Linked DNA regions of Homo sapiens: all the other regions are linked to region 3. Evidence: promoter capture Hi-C in 16 types of primary human blood cells and fetal thymus (Javierre and others, 2016). All regions are on one chromosome and are shown on one strand. The core of a region is centred on a gene start or on the middle of the fragment in contact, and the rest is flanking DNA. Distances in the headings are between cores, read along the strand shown. Region 1 overlaps RBPJ (recombination signal binding protein for immunoglobulin kappa J region). Region 2 overlaps RBPJ (recombination signal binding protein for immunoglobulin kappa J region). Region 3 holds the start of SEL1L3 (SEL1L family member 3).

Region 1 (4,743 bases), core at 2,058-4,557, 560 kb after region 3:
GTGGTGGAGATTTTTTTCTTTAATAACTATTGGTAACAATTTCTTGAATATATAAACTAGGACCAAAAAACATGCCTCTCATAGCTTTGGTCTAGTCACTCATGAAGCTTACGCTGCTGACATTGGAAGGTGGCATGCAGTAAGCTTCCCCAGCTTGCAAGCAGTTTTAGCAGACTATAAATCAGATTTCTATTGGAAGCCAGTAATAAATTTAGGAGGCTGATTGCTCATCTTCTGTTTGACAGAGGTTTATCAACAAAAATACATTGTTCAGTAATGTTTTACTCTGCTATTTTAATCTTAGTTTTATACTAGACACGATGATATATACATTGTGGAAAGCATTTATCTGGGTTATAACGATCATAAACGTTTACTTGACATCAGAGTGAAGCAGAGTGATACTGTAGACAAGAACAGCCACAGTTGGCTTTACTCAAATTTTAGTGCGTGGCAGGGGTTCTTCAATTAATTTTCTAGAGAAAACAATCTATCAGCTAGTTTTACTGATTATATTGTATGAATTTAGAAAGCAGTCAATCTAGATCTTTTTTTTTCTTCCCCCGGGACAGGGTTTTTACTCTGTCACCCATGCAGAAATGCAATAGTGCAATCTTGGCTGACTGCAACCTCCACCTCACAAGTAGCGGGACCATAGGTGTGTGTCACTATGTCCAGCTAACTTTTTTGTATTTTTTTGTAGAGATGGGGTTTCGCCATGTTACCTAGGCTGGTCTTGAACTCCTGAGCTCAAGCAATCCATCCACCTCAGCCTCCCAAAGTGCTGGGATTACGGGTGTGTGCCACCGTGTCCAGCCAATCTATACTTTTAGTATTGAAAGATAGTTTTTTATTCACTTAGAATTTAGCTATGGTTTTATTTTTCCTTGCTACTGTACTTTGGAAAATGGTTAGTTCTGATCTCAATGACTAAACATCTTCTAAAATAGCGCATAAACAGCTGTTTCATTATTTGATACATCCTTGTTGAATATTTTAGTGTTTGCTATGTTGTAGTTGGCACTAGGTATATGGGTTGGGAGTAGTGTTGGTGGAGGTGAGCTAGGGGATTTGTACTCTCAAATTGAATTTTAGTGATTTTACAGATAGTACTACAGGTCTTAATGTCAACCTCCTTCAAATTTAGCTGTTTGTATGTCATTTATATCTTTATAGTTTTTGTAAGTAAGATTTGTTGACTATGTATTTTAAATTAGATTTGGGATAATACTTATTACAATAAAGATTGTTTCATCTTAAACCACTAAAACTATTTCTAAATTATGATCCCTGAGCTAAAGTAACGAATATATTTAAGTGGTGGGTTGATCTAATAGATCTTAAGTCTTGTCTCATCTGTTTTCTTGTTACCTAGGAAGTCTCAGAGTTATATGTCTCCAGGCTTCACATGTAGACATTCAGTACTATGAATGAGTGGATCAGATAGGTAGTGAGAAGCCAGGGATTCTAGCTACCTGTGTGTATAACTGTTTAATCCTACTTCATTGCTCATTTTAACCAGTTCCAGCTTCCAGTAATTTTAAATGAGGTGATACCAAATAAACCAACCAGTAGTATCACTGCTTGCCTTTCGCAGCATTGTGGCTTAGTAGTGCCACATCCTAATTTTGTACCTTTAGGGGCTGCCTCAACATGGAGATCTTTCTGCTGTTTTTCATTATATCTTTCTTCAACTTCCACTAGTATACCCTTTCCCCAAGGCCTAGAAACTGGCAGAAGAGGAATAGAATACCTGAGAGCTTGAGCATTTAACTAGTATTTAAAATACCTAGTAATAGGTTAGTACAATGTCTGTAAGCCAAAATTATATGTTAATATTTAATTTTAAGGAAAAATTCTATTAGGGAAGTTTATGTAAAGCAAGACTGGTGAGAGTTAGTAGAAGGCATCCCAGGCAGAAAAAAAAACAATATAATCATGTGCTTAGAGCATAAAGGTATAAGAACATGGTTTTGACCAAGGTAGGCAAAGATGTCCTGAGCAGCGGATTCTGAGCTTCAGTGAGAGGCACTTTGCTCTTGTCTGCCTCACTTAAACTCCATTCGTGTAAGGAAATAGTCTGTTCATTGAGTGGTACAATTAGTTATTGAGAAATATGGGATATTCATTTTGCAATTTTTGGTGTTTATACTTATTTTAAATATTCACTGCAACAAAATTCTAGTATATCTAGCCCTTTAAATTTATGGTCATGACATTTGGCTGTATGTAGGTAATATGTTGGATCTTAGATTTTGTGTAATGTTTTTAATTTGTTAAAAAAATTTACATTTTTTATAGTCACAGCTAGGTAAGCTACGCAACAAGGATGACTTAGTTAACACTCTTGTGTTTTTCTTATTTTTAAACATCATATACTCTTGGTAACATTTTGTTTCTATAATTTAAACATTTCTGCAGTATCACTTTGCAGCATTAGATTTGGTATTTCTTCTTTCTTTCAGGGAAATGTCTTTTATTGCCTAAAGATCTTGTTTTCAAAGAGTATTTCTAGAGAGATGATTATATGCCATTTTCTCTTCTAGAATTCCGTTAGCTAATTTAACCTTTTGCAATAGCAAGGCAAATGTAATTTTAGTTTTATTTGCTTATTTTCTATGAGTCAGTGACTTTTTCCTTCTTTTCTTAATGGAATTTGAGTAGTTTGTGGTCAGTGGCCTTATAGTTTTTTAAAACTAATAGTTCCCATAAAATTATCTTGATTATGATTTTTGTGGATTCAAACTACTCATTGTAATTAGGGATATATTTCCTTTCTTTCCAAGGAGATATATGTGTGTTTGTTTTTTCCGAACAAAATGCAGTTCTTTTTGTGTAGGTCTTATGATCCAACCTTCTTGGTTCTTTTTTTCCGTTCTTGTTTGCCAATATGTCTTATTTATGCTGGATTTCAGTATTTTCTCTTTCTGATATGGATCTTACCTTTTAATTTTAACACTCAAAAGCCATCTCAACATTTTTAAGCTTTCCCATTAGAATGTAATTACCTTCATTTAGATATAAATTTCATTTTTGCTTCCCATGACTGTCTGCTTTAGTACATTGATACCCATTTTCATAGACCTCGTCTTATGTTGCAGAAGAATTTCATTGTTTAGGCTTAATTTGACCTTCAATGCTGTCTGTCACTTTTAAGAGTATGGCCGACCTATGGGTATAGCAGCTCACAGATGCCATCTCTGAGTGCGTTAGAGATCTTGGGTGCAAGGAGTGATGTGACTGCAAAGTACTGTTGTTTTTTGTTTCTTTATCTTTATTCATTTTGAGACAGGGTGCCACCGTGCCGCCCAGGCTGGAGTGCGGTGGTGGGATCACGGCCCATTACAACCTCTGCCTCCTGGGCTCAAGCGACCGTCCCACCTCAGCCTCCTGAGTAGCTGGGACTACAGGCATGCACCACCATGCCTGGATAATTTTTGTGTTTTTCGTAGAGATGGGGTTTCACCATGTTGCTCAGGCTGGTCTCAAACTTCTGGACTTAAGCAGTCTGTCCACCTTGGCCTCCCAAAGTGCTGAGATTACAGGCATGAGCCACCACCCTGGCCTGTTTTTATTTATTACTATGATTGGCTTTATCTTATTTTTGCCTTCTACAGAGCAAAACCTCTCAAAGCTTTTACCAAACTTTTGATTTTTAAAAACTTAGTTAAATGTATAATGTTCAAGATGGCATCTAAATTTTCTTATATAGCTTTGCTATGAGAAATACAATAAACTATTGCAGTAGTTTTGTCTGCTACCGAGGCTGTCTGTGAATAAAATTTTAAAGATAAAAACCTAGAAGTCATTAACTGTTTCCTGAGTAGCATTTGCTCTGCTTTTTAAAAGGAAGATACAGGAGAGGCAGTTGAAGAAACTTGTTTAGCTTAATTTTAAAGTGGAATGTTGATCCTTTAAAAAATATAATTCGATACTTTAGATACTTATGCTGTGTTTCAGCATCATTTATCTTATCTGGAAAAGGACAATAATTTAGACCCCTCCCTGATTCACAGGGATCAAGAGAATAGGAAAGATTTTAGAATTGTTATATATAATATAAGCAGTAGCATTTTGAAGGGTCTTTGCTGTTTGTAAAGTGCTATATCTCTTTATCTTTTCAGTTATCAGAATTTAAATTCTGGTAAACTGACATAATGCCTTGAGCATTTTCTCTAGTACCTTTAAATTCAGTTCTTCTGGTGATACATATGAATCGTCCTTTTGGGCAAAGTTAACCATTTTAAAAATAGTTCTTTAAAGTAATGCTTATATAATCTCTTTCTGGTTTAAGATATTTTATAATCATCCAGTTTGTCTATCATTGTTTTCCTCAATCTTATAAGTGATTACTCTAGTGTTCAGCTATATAAAGAAAAATATTTTATGCACTATTTTGAGAAGAACTACTGCTAAAATCTTTTACATAATTTCTTGAATTCTGATAGCTTTATTATTATTTTTTTTTTGGAGAAAGTCATTGATTTTTTTTAACTGTAAAATTTATTTTAAAAGTTACTGCTGTAACGTTGAGTGATAATTCCATGATACAGTTGTAGAGCTATGTAAAACAAGAAAAGGCTGTTTTTTTAAATGGTCTTTTAAAGAGGATACAATAGATGACAATGTTTGTGTTCTACAGACTTTATAAGGAAGACTTTGTACTTTTCCGAAATCAATTTCAGTAATTTTTATAGTTGATAATTTTTAGAGTTGGTTTTATCAGCTATCCCTTGGAATTGT
Region 2 (4,842 bases), core at 1,018-3,517, 540 kb after region 3:
CATAAGAGGTAAAGCCTTAAGTAGCAAAATGGCTTATTTGTACAATAACCTTTTAAAGCTAATAGAACACAGATGTGTTGATGACCCATTGCTCTCAATGTAACGGCCTATGCCTATTTGGGAGTGGGAGGCGGGGAGGGGAAAACCAAGAGCTGGTCAGAATTTGAAAGAATGTGTCTCATAGCTGTGTGACAGGATTTGAAGCAATTTACTTACTTATCTACAAAAAACTTTTTGTGGAATTTTGGGACATTTTTACTTCTGCTATAAAAAGAGAGGATTGAAGTGAGGTTTGCAGGTGTTTCCTTAGGAACAGGACCTGTACTGTTGTTTAGCTTTGGTCACTGGTAGATGTAGACACTTAGTACAGCAGCCTCAATGTTTTATTGTGTTACAAGGGCACCAGGACCTTGTTGACTATTGATAGTATCCCTAGATTGTCATTTTCAAAACTGGTCCTCAGGCAAACAGTAGTTCTCAGGAAGCTTCCTTGGAAGAAAAACAAGGAGATCTTAGTCTGGTCTAATAGCTTGGAAAATGAAACCTACAAATATCCCTCTCTTGAAGATTTTGCTTAAGGTTCTGAGTAGTTCTGCCATGAATTAGTTTCACTTTATTTTATCTGATTTCACTGAAGCATCTTGGATTGAGACACGCTTCTTTGTAAACCGTAAGTATTGTGGAGCTCACTTTGAGAAGTGTCTGAGGCAGTGTAAAAGGCGAGACTGCCAGAGTCTGACAAAAATAGGGCAGTTCTTCAAGGTTTTGTGGGGGTGCGTATAAATCAGGATGCCTTTTGGCAGCATCCCCAAGTAGATGTGAGAAGAGTTGAGCTGAGCTTTCTGAACCCTCAGTTGTTCATAAGTCAAGTTTTGAGGAAGAATTTTATAAAAAAATTCTTGATTGAATGTCAGCCGTGCAATATACTTAATTGATTTAATTAGAATTCTGTTTTGCAACTTTTCCTTAAAAACTTTTAAAAATTGTCTGCAGGGATCAACAAGCATTTTCTGTAGCGTCAAGTAGTATATATTTTAGGCTTTGAGGGCCACATACTATCTCTGTTGCATATTATTAGTCTCTGTTTTGTAACTCTTTTTTTGTTGTTGTTGTTTTTTGAGACAGAGTCTCACTCTGTTGCCCAGGCTGGAGTGCAGTGGCGCGATCTTGCCTCACTGCAACCTCCACCTCCCAGGTTCAAGCGATTCTCCTGCCTCAGCCTCCCAGGTAGCTGGGATTACAGGCGTGTGCTACCATGCCCAGCTAATTTTTTGTATTTTTAGTAGAGACAGGGTTTCACTGTGTTAGCCAGGATGGTCTCAATCTCCTGACCTTGTGATCCGCCTGCGTCGGCCTCCCAAAGTGCTGGGATTACAGGCGTGAGCCACCTTGCCCGGCATTGTAACTCTTTGAAAATGTAAAAGGCATGCTTAGCTCCTAGGGGGCACAAAAACAGGCTGCTTTGTGATTTGATGACTGTGGCCTATTGTGTTTCTCAATATGCTCTTCAGTTCTCTAAAATGTTCACGAGTGATATTGTGTGTGTGTGTGTGTGTGTGTGATTACTTTGAAAATTCTTGATACAACAAAAATAAGTTTCTTCATTAGAAGACAGAGTTCATTTTGGACTTTTATTATTTGGATTTTAAAGTGACAGTAGTCCAATTTGAGAAGCGCAGAGAGTGAGCCTGGAGGTAAAGATGACTGGACCTCCCATCTTTGTGGTGGTTTTCTCCTCTTCCCTCTCTCCCACACTCCCTCCACTTACCCCTTGGACCAATCACAGAGGTGTGTAAGAGTGTGGTGAGAAAGTGAGGAAGTCTGTTTTCAGAAGAATGGCGATTAGCACCATAAGGACACCGCAAACTCACCGCTATAATTAATGTCCTAGCGGGAGATGTGGTTTGTAGTGTTTTCCATATGTCTTGGCCCTCAGAACTCCGTTTTAAGGAGGATCTTGCCTCCAGGAATTTACTTTGAGAAACACTAAGCTATGGATTAAATGTACACTTTACTAGCATGACATTTAAGGCTTGAGCCAATCTCACCCCACCCTGTCTTTCCAATCTCATCTTTCAGAATTCTGTTTTTCTTTTTGGAAACAGAGTCTCGCTCTGTCGCCCAGGCTGGAGTGCAGTGACGTAATCTCAGCTCACTGCAACTTCTGCCTTCCACGTTCAAGTGCTTCTTTTGCCTCAGCCTCCCAAGTAGCTCAGACTACAGGCGTCTGCCACCACACCCGGGTAATTTTTGTATTTTTAGTAGAGATGGGGTTTCTCTATGTTGGCCAGGCTGGTCTTGAACTCCTGACCTTGTGATCTGCCTGCCTCAGCCTCCCAAAGTGCTGGGATTACAGGCGGGAGCCACCTCGTCCAGCCCGTCTTTCAGAATTCTGTGTGTTATATACTTCAGCTACTTAAAAGTACTCAGTTTCTAGATACTAGGTTTTTTTGCAGTGCATCTTTACCTTTTCTTCTTGGCTTTTTTTGTTTTAACAAACTTAGGAATTAAAAACTTCCCTTTATATCCAGAATTTTAAAAATCCTGTAAAGAGACAAACTTTTCTGCCGTAACCTTAGTTATTCCCGCCACCACCCCTTTTCCTTATCAGCATGACTTACGTTCATTGCACTTTCTTCCCTTCCTTTCATTTTGTAGCTTGCTTCAGTGGTGTTGCCTCACCACCAGCTCACTGAGAAGATTCTAATTAAGCCGTTCCATTTATGAACTAATTGTCAAATTTATGAAGAGTTTCTAATCTTTATTTTTCTTGACTATTCTGTAATATTTAATAACATTGATTATGTTCCCTTAACTGAAGTTCTCTTTTACCTTTACGCGGGGACCAGGTTCTTCCCTTTTTTTGCAGACTCCCATTGCCTCCATTGGCATAACTAGTAAAAGTAGATCCATTAGAAACAGCACATGAGCTTATCTTACCATTCATGGATGTTTCACTGTAGTATTCTCTTTGTGGTATTTTTCTTTCCTTTTTTTTTTTCTGTATAAAAAAAGTTTGAATTTTATAAGGCAAACCACAGTCAAAAAATTGACAGAGGTAATCACAGATTAAGCATGTTGAACCAGAATGGCATTTGCCATAATTCCATAATTTCATGTTAGTAAAATTATTTTTGATAACAAAATCTCCTTTTTTTGTTTTGTTTTTTTTGTTTGAGATGGAGTCTGTCGCTCAGGCTGGAGTGCAATGGTGCGATCTTGGCTCACTGCAACCTCCGCCTCCTGGGTTCAAGCAATTCCCTGCCTCCTGAGTAGCTGAGACTATAGGCGCGTGCCACCATGCCTGGCTAGTTTTTGTATTTTTTGTAGAGATGGGGTTTCACTATGTTGGCCAGGCTGGCCTCAAACTCCTGACCTCAATTGATTTGCCCACCTCAGCCTCCCAAAGTGCTGTGATTACAGGCGTAATCCAATTGGTTTTCATTTAGAATGAAAATTTTATGTAAGAAATCATTAAATGAAATTAGTAAACAATAGACTTCAAAATTTACCTTATGTTTTAAAGTATTCAAAAAAACAGTTCAATAATAAAACAGTAATTCTACGGTCAAGGATTCTTCAGCACCTGTAATATGTTTTTCCAATAATAAAATTTTTGGTATTTTTTAATTAAAAAAAAACCTGGATGATTGTGATATCTTACCACTGAAATTTTTTGGGTTTATCCCAGTAGTTTTCATTCCATGTGACCATCTCACTCCATCCTCTTTCTTGACATTTGGCACCATCTGGAGACATTTTTAGTTGTCATAATTCAAGGAAGGGTGCTACTGGCACCTGCAGGGTAAAAGATAGTGATGCTGCTACATAGTCCTACAATGCACAGCGCAATCTCTCCACAGCAGAAAATGATTTTGCCCAGGATGTCAGCAGTGCTGAGATAGAAATCCTATTTATTGACACAGCCTTCCTCTATTTGGATGAAAAGCATATGGGCTATTATTTGACAGGCTTTTTACTATTTATTGTGTTTCTTTAGAGTATATCGTCTTGTTTTATGGCTCCTTAAGATGCAGAAAGTCAATGATCAAGCTTTAATTGCCAGAGAACATAATTTTTAATGTTTTAATATTCTGTTTAATAAAGTGAAATTTATTTTTACTGTTGAAAGAAGCTATTTGGCAAATTACTTTTACAGGACAACTATTGTTCATGATTACCTTGAGGCTCTAGTTACTTTTTCAGGAATTTGTATTCTAAACATGAAGGAAAAGACGAGGAAAACCAGAGCTGTCACCCTGCATTCATCATAAGCACTGTGAGGTCTTTGAACTGTGAACAGTTACATCCAGTAGTAGAAGCCAGTAGAATGCCCAGTGCCTAGAATATAGTAAGCTTCCAATAAATCTTCAGTGGGAAGATGGATAGTTGTGCACTTTACCTGGTGTACTTGCAAAATTTGTGCTTTGCACATTGGGTAACATGCCTGATCATTCATTCCTAGGTCATTTTCAAGTTTGCTCTCAAAGCCTCAGTGGAAGTCCCATTTTCCCTCCCTCTGCATTTTGTGTACTGTTGAAGGTTGAAGTCTTCTTTCTAAGGAAATAATAGTAATAGCTCGAGGCTACTGACACTTGCTTTCTGTCAGTTTGTGGGACTAACTTACTTTAAAGTGTCCCCCTGCCCCCACCACCAATATGAGGCATTACTGCCTTTATCTTACAGGTGAGAAAACTCAGGCTTAGTGATTGACAGACCCTTAGTAACAGACCCGGATCTATTTCACACCAAAGCTATACCCCTAATCACTAACGGTATGATTTTGTCCTCACAAGCTAGGCTACGCAGATTTGAATCCTCACTCTTCAGTATCATCTTGGG
Region 3 (4,587 bases), core at 269-2,768:
TAAAAAACGTTAAAAGAAACGGGCTGAGTGGCAAATTTCTTCAGAATCAAATTCTAATTTCTGCCAGTATCTCCTAAGCAGTTTTTAGCTTCCAAAAAGAAAGACTCCAAATAATGACAATGCCACATAAGTGAAATGAATTCTGGACAATGACACTGCTCTTTTTTTTTTTTTTTTTGGCATTCTGTGAATTTCCTATTACATCAGTTTCATGATTCAGCATTTTCCATTTCATTTATTTACAGTAATATATGGCGAGATAACCCAAGGTTTCTGCAGGATTGTGGAACATAAGTTACTCTGGGCAGGAAGGGTGTCGCCTTCTGTAAATTTACTATTGTTTAGGAGAACTCAAAACAGAAGCAAGCAAGCCCTCAAAGGAACTGAGAAAATTTCTCCCCACTTTGTTCTGAGGGGTCTCAGCTACTCTGGTATTTAAAATAAATGGGTTTTGAAAAATAGGTTACTGCCCTTTAGTTGATGACTAAAACAGAAGCCAAGAAGTGTGCAAATTGCAAACTGACATGCATGAGCCAAACATATTCTCTGAAATGACAATGTTCAAGACGCAGCTAAAGTCACCACTCTGGCGGTAAGCGTGTTACAGAGAACTAGATTTCTTTCCGGCATCCGCAACTTGGCTGGAGTGACCAAGGAGGAGTTGAAGAGCGCTGGAGATGCGAGGTGCGTTGGCAGAAAACTGTCCGGGCCGGGAGGACCCGGTGGAAACTAAAAGGAGGGTCGACGCGGGTGGCGGGCGCCGAGAGTAAGAGGCGAAGTTGGGCACGGGAAGGAAAGGAGCTGCGAGAAGATTGAGAGGGAAGCCCAGGAGGGGTGGGGGGTTGGGGGGTGCTGGAGACTGCGCGCGGCGGGGCGGGGAGCGAACTCCGGGCGGCGAGGCTCCCGGGTGGAGTCGAGGACAAGAAGGGGTCTCGAGGGTAACCCGACCCGGGTCTAGAGAGAGTCCAGGAGGGAAAGGAATGAGCACGAGCGAGAGAGCAGCTTGGCAAGTCCGGTCCAAGCGCCCCTCTCCACGCCCGGGGTACCTATCCCAGGTGCCGGGAACGCCCGGGGCGCAGCGACGAGGAAGAGAGAAAACTAGCAGCGGCGTCCCCGCCCCGCGTGGCGGGTGTCCCCGGCCGCCCCCACCCGCGTCCCCGGGGCCCCGCGCGGAGGGGAAGACCCGGGCAGGGTCCGGCGCTCACCAGGTAGCAGAGCAGGAGCAGCGCGCAGGCAGAGCGGCCGCCGAGGCCCTGGGGGACGCCGCCACTCGGGACCATGGCTGCGGCCCGGGGGCCGACCGCGAGCGGCGGGGGTTGCTGCTGCTGCTGCCGCGGCCACCCGAGCCCCGCGCCGCGCCGCTGCATGGCGAGGCCGCCCGGATCCGGGCCGGAACAGGTCACCTGGTGCAGGGACCGGCCCCCGCCCGAGGCGCCACCTTCCCGCCCGCCCCCGGCCGGGCCGGCCGCCGCGCGCGGGGCCACCTGCCGCCACCTCCGGACCCGCCGCCGCCGCCACTGCCGCTCCCGCCGTCGCCGCCCCCGCAGCCCCAGCCGAGCGCCGGCTCCTCCCCGCCTCCCCGTCCCCGTCCCCTCCCTCCCCTCTGCCTCCCTGCCCAGCCCTCCTCCCGGCCGCTCCCTCTGGCCCCCGGGCTTCCACCCCTCGGAGCAGCGGGCGCCCACGCAGGTGGGCACCGACCCGGGTCCCGCCCCTTGGCCGCCGCCACCCCCCGCCCGGGTCGCTGGGCCCCGGCGCACCCCCCTTTCCCTTTCTCTCTGCTCCTCCCCCGCCCCCCTTCCGCGCTCCTGCTCTCTGCGATCCCCCTCCTCTCCCTCCGGCTCCCTCTTCCTTCTCCCCTCGCGCTCCCAAACCCCCTCTCTTTTTCACTTTCTCCTTTTCCTCCCTTTCCTCTTTCTCCCTTCCCATCCTCTTCCTCGCTTCCGCATTCTTCCTCTCCCACCCACCCCTTTTGCGGGTCGCACAGACCAGTTCCCGCCCGTGCAATGGGTTTTTGTCTGGTTGCTTTTTTGGCCGGGGCGCCATTCCCGCAGGGCGCAGGGCGAGTGTGCCCCCTGGAGTTGTGCCGCGCAGCTGCCCGGCTCCCAGGCCTTCAGGATGGATTTTGACCCCTGCCAACCTCCACCTGTCCACCTGCGGGGTTGGGACTGCCTCCTTGCTGGCATGTTTGCAGCCGGGCTGCGCCCCACCCTGCCGGCTGGTTCGCGGCACGTTCTGGATGTTTCCCGAGGGTTTTGTGTGGTGCCGCCGCCACCGCCACCACTGCGCTCTTTGTTTTAATTGTCCAGAGTATTGGCACCCAGGACGGGTTTGTATTTGATTTGCATCCCTGTGCTCCGGCTTCCACTTTGGACTGAGAAAAAAATGAATTAATTAGGTCAATACAGTAATACTGGAGCCCCAAATGAAAGGGGTGAGGCCCTGGAAGTGCGCAAACAGCTTTTTAAAAAACCAGGACACATCCTCGGCCTTGGGGACGCAGGTTGAGACTGGCTGCTCTCCGACCCGGGTTCTGCGGCCTGGCGGGGAGGGGCCTCCGGCCGGCGGGACCACCAGCTCGCCGCCGGCCTTGGCTTTCAGGGAAGCGCTTGGCTGTGTCTAGCGGCTCCGACAACTATCTGGGCCCGCAGCTGCTGCTCTGAAACAGTTAATCCACCTTCCAAAGTTCGCAGAAGCTTCCCTTTAGCACTGGTAGATTTGTGCGGATTGGAACTAATAATAGCCTGGGAGCCTGAGAGGCCACAGCCCTTTCCCTGTGCCACGAGCATAGGTCAAGTCACAACAGACGTCGGGGAGAGGCTGGTGGTGAGACGGGGTGCCCGGGATGGTTTGACGGGCGTGGACGCGCCCTCAGCTGCTTCAGTACAGGCCTGGCCACACCAGGCATGGTGGCTCCTCAGCTGTCGTCCACTTTTTTTTAGGTCACCTAAGAGCTGTGGCCTTGTGTGAGTTCCCTGGCCTTATTCCACCGGTTCTCAAACTTCAGAATTACCTGGAGGGATTGTTAAAACACAGATTCCTGGACTTCAGCCCTAGAATTTCTGACTCAGTTGGTCCTGGGAGGGACTTGAGAATGTACCTTTCTAACAAGCTCCTGGGTGATGTTAACGCGCTGGTTCAAACAGCCCTCCTCCATTTCCAGAACTATTGGCTTTTAGGGAACTGGGCTCCTGCTCCTCCCAGCCAGCTGCCACCACATTAAAGCATTTTGGGGGTTTTGACAGATGCTCCCACTATCTCTGTTCCACTTCTGCAGAAACAAAGCACTTAACATTCTTCTGTGTGACGTGGAAAACATTTATTCTATCGAGTGTCCAAGGGAACAAAAGATTTGGTGGCTTTGTCCCAGATCCTGTCTATATCTTTTCCATCAGGTCAAAATACAGACTATGCTTTTAATGTATATGGAAGGAAAATTGTCGGCCAGTTCAGGGGGAAGGGGCTTCAACAGGCATTGCAGCATTTCTAGGGTTGCCACCTGTCTTCCTGGGCCACGCTCCGGAGTTTCTCTCCTCCCACATTGTACACAGATTCTGTTGGTCTTCGGGGAGCTAAATGGTTCCTCGGGGTTGTTTGTAATCAGGATTCATGGAATTGGGAGTTTTCAAGGCCTTGTGAGCTTTGAGGATTTGGGTTTACCTAAGTGTAGGTAAGCAGAGTGCCCCACTGGAGGCTGGACTGTTTCTAACTTGCCATATCCAACTGCTCACTTCTCCCCTACTCACTCATCTCCTATTGTGTTCCTACTGTGGACTGGGCACCACCTGAGGCCCCAGGATTCCAGAGGTAGGCAGGAAGGCTCTGTTTCTGCAAGGAGCACCAGGCATGCAGAAAACCGGCCAGAGTTTGGTCTTCTAAGAGGGATGTGTGAGTTGCTCTCTCATCCTGAGCTAGAGGTGGTGGGATTAACTGCTTCATCCTGTGTTGGAGAGGGGGAGAGAAAAAGTCAAGATTTCTTTTCACGGGGGAGTGGGACGTTTTGATCCAGAAGACAGAATCAGCTCTTACTTTTGCGTCTCTCCAGCAGTTTGTGTCAGTCATTGAAAGGGCGTGGTCTGATTTCAGAAGAAAGCCCTTTATTTAAAAAGAAATATATCTTCCCATTGTCCCATGGAAGGGCTTGAAATCTCACCATTACAATTCATCAGTTTAAATTAAGTTTTAATACTCCACTAAAAGTCGAAGGCCCCAGGGGGAGATTGGCCTCCCTTATTACTGCCTTGGTGTGAGTCAGTTTATCACATGCCCTTGGAAAGGGACCAATTCCACACCTCAACACGGGAAAGGACAAAGGCACAGAGTCCTGAGCTCATCATGGCCCGCCCCTAGGAGGAGACTTCAGAGGCCTGGAGGGAGGGGCTGGAGAAAGGACTGCATCTGCATGCCTAGGTGGCACATCATAGCATTCCAGGTGAGATGTTCTGAGACTCTGAAATTTTTTTTCTTTTTTTTTTCTTTTTGAGACGGAGTCTCACTGTGTTGCCCAGGCTGGAGTGCAGTGGCGTGATCTCAGCTTACTGCAACCTCCACCCCCTGGGTTTAAGCTATTCTCCTGCCTCAAGCCTCTAG

Evidence for each region. The method cuts DNA at HindIII sites, captures the fragments that hold promoters and counts their contacts. A CHiCAGO score of 5 or more calls a contact.
Region 1: a fragment that was not itself captured here is called in contact with the fragment with the promoter of SEL1L3 in region 3 in 1 of 17 cell types (total CD4 T cells); the score reaches 5.2 in total CD4 T cells.
Region 2: a fragment that was not itself captured here is called in contact with the fragment with the promoter of SEL1L3 in region 3 in 5 of 17 cell types (naive B cells, naive CD4 T cells, total B cells and 2 more); the score reaches 7.9 in naive B cells.

The regions. Positions count from the first base shown.
Region 1 is chr4:26,415,712-26,420,454 of GRCh38, forward strand. The region is part of intron 4 of RBPJ (recombination signal binding protein for immunoglobulin kappa J region); the gene reads left to right. Among named protein-coding and RNA genes, the nearest start is that of CCKAR, 72 kb to the right of the region's middle. The HindIII fragment of the contact is 649 bases long and covers 2,984-3,632 here.
Region 2 is chr4:26,396,534-26,401,375 of GRCh38, forward strand. All of the region lies in intron 2 of RBPJ (recombination signal binding protein for immunoglobulin kappa J region), which reads left to right. Among named protein-coding and RNA genes, the nearest start is that of RBPJ, 78 kb to the left of the region's middle. The HindIII fragment of the contact is 3,568 bases long and covers 484-4,051 here.
Region 3 is chr4:25,861,470-25,866,056 of GRCh38, forward strand. SEL1L3 (SEL1L family member 3) reads right to left here and starts at 1,519. Exons shown (of 24, transcript NM_015187.5): 1 at 1,206-1,519. The coding sequence starts at 1,367. LOC102723733 (a long non-coding RNA gene) reads left to right here. Exons shown (of 2, transcript XR_427503.5): 1 at 1-684. It overlaps LOC124900688 (a long non-coding RNA gene), which reads right to left. Exons shown (of 3, transcript XR_007058092.1): 3 at 3,739-3,937. RefSeq lists silencers at 518-812, 1,083-1,542, 1,593-1,752. The HindIII fragment of the contact is 3,672 bases long and covers 1-2,691 here.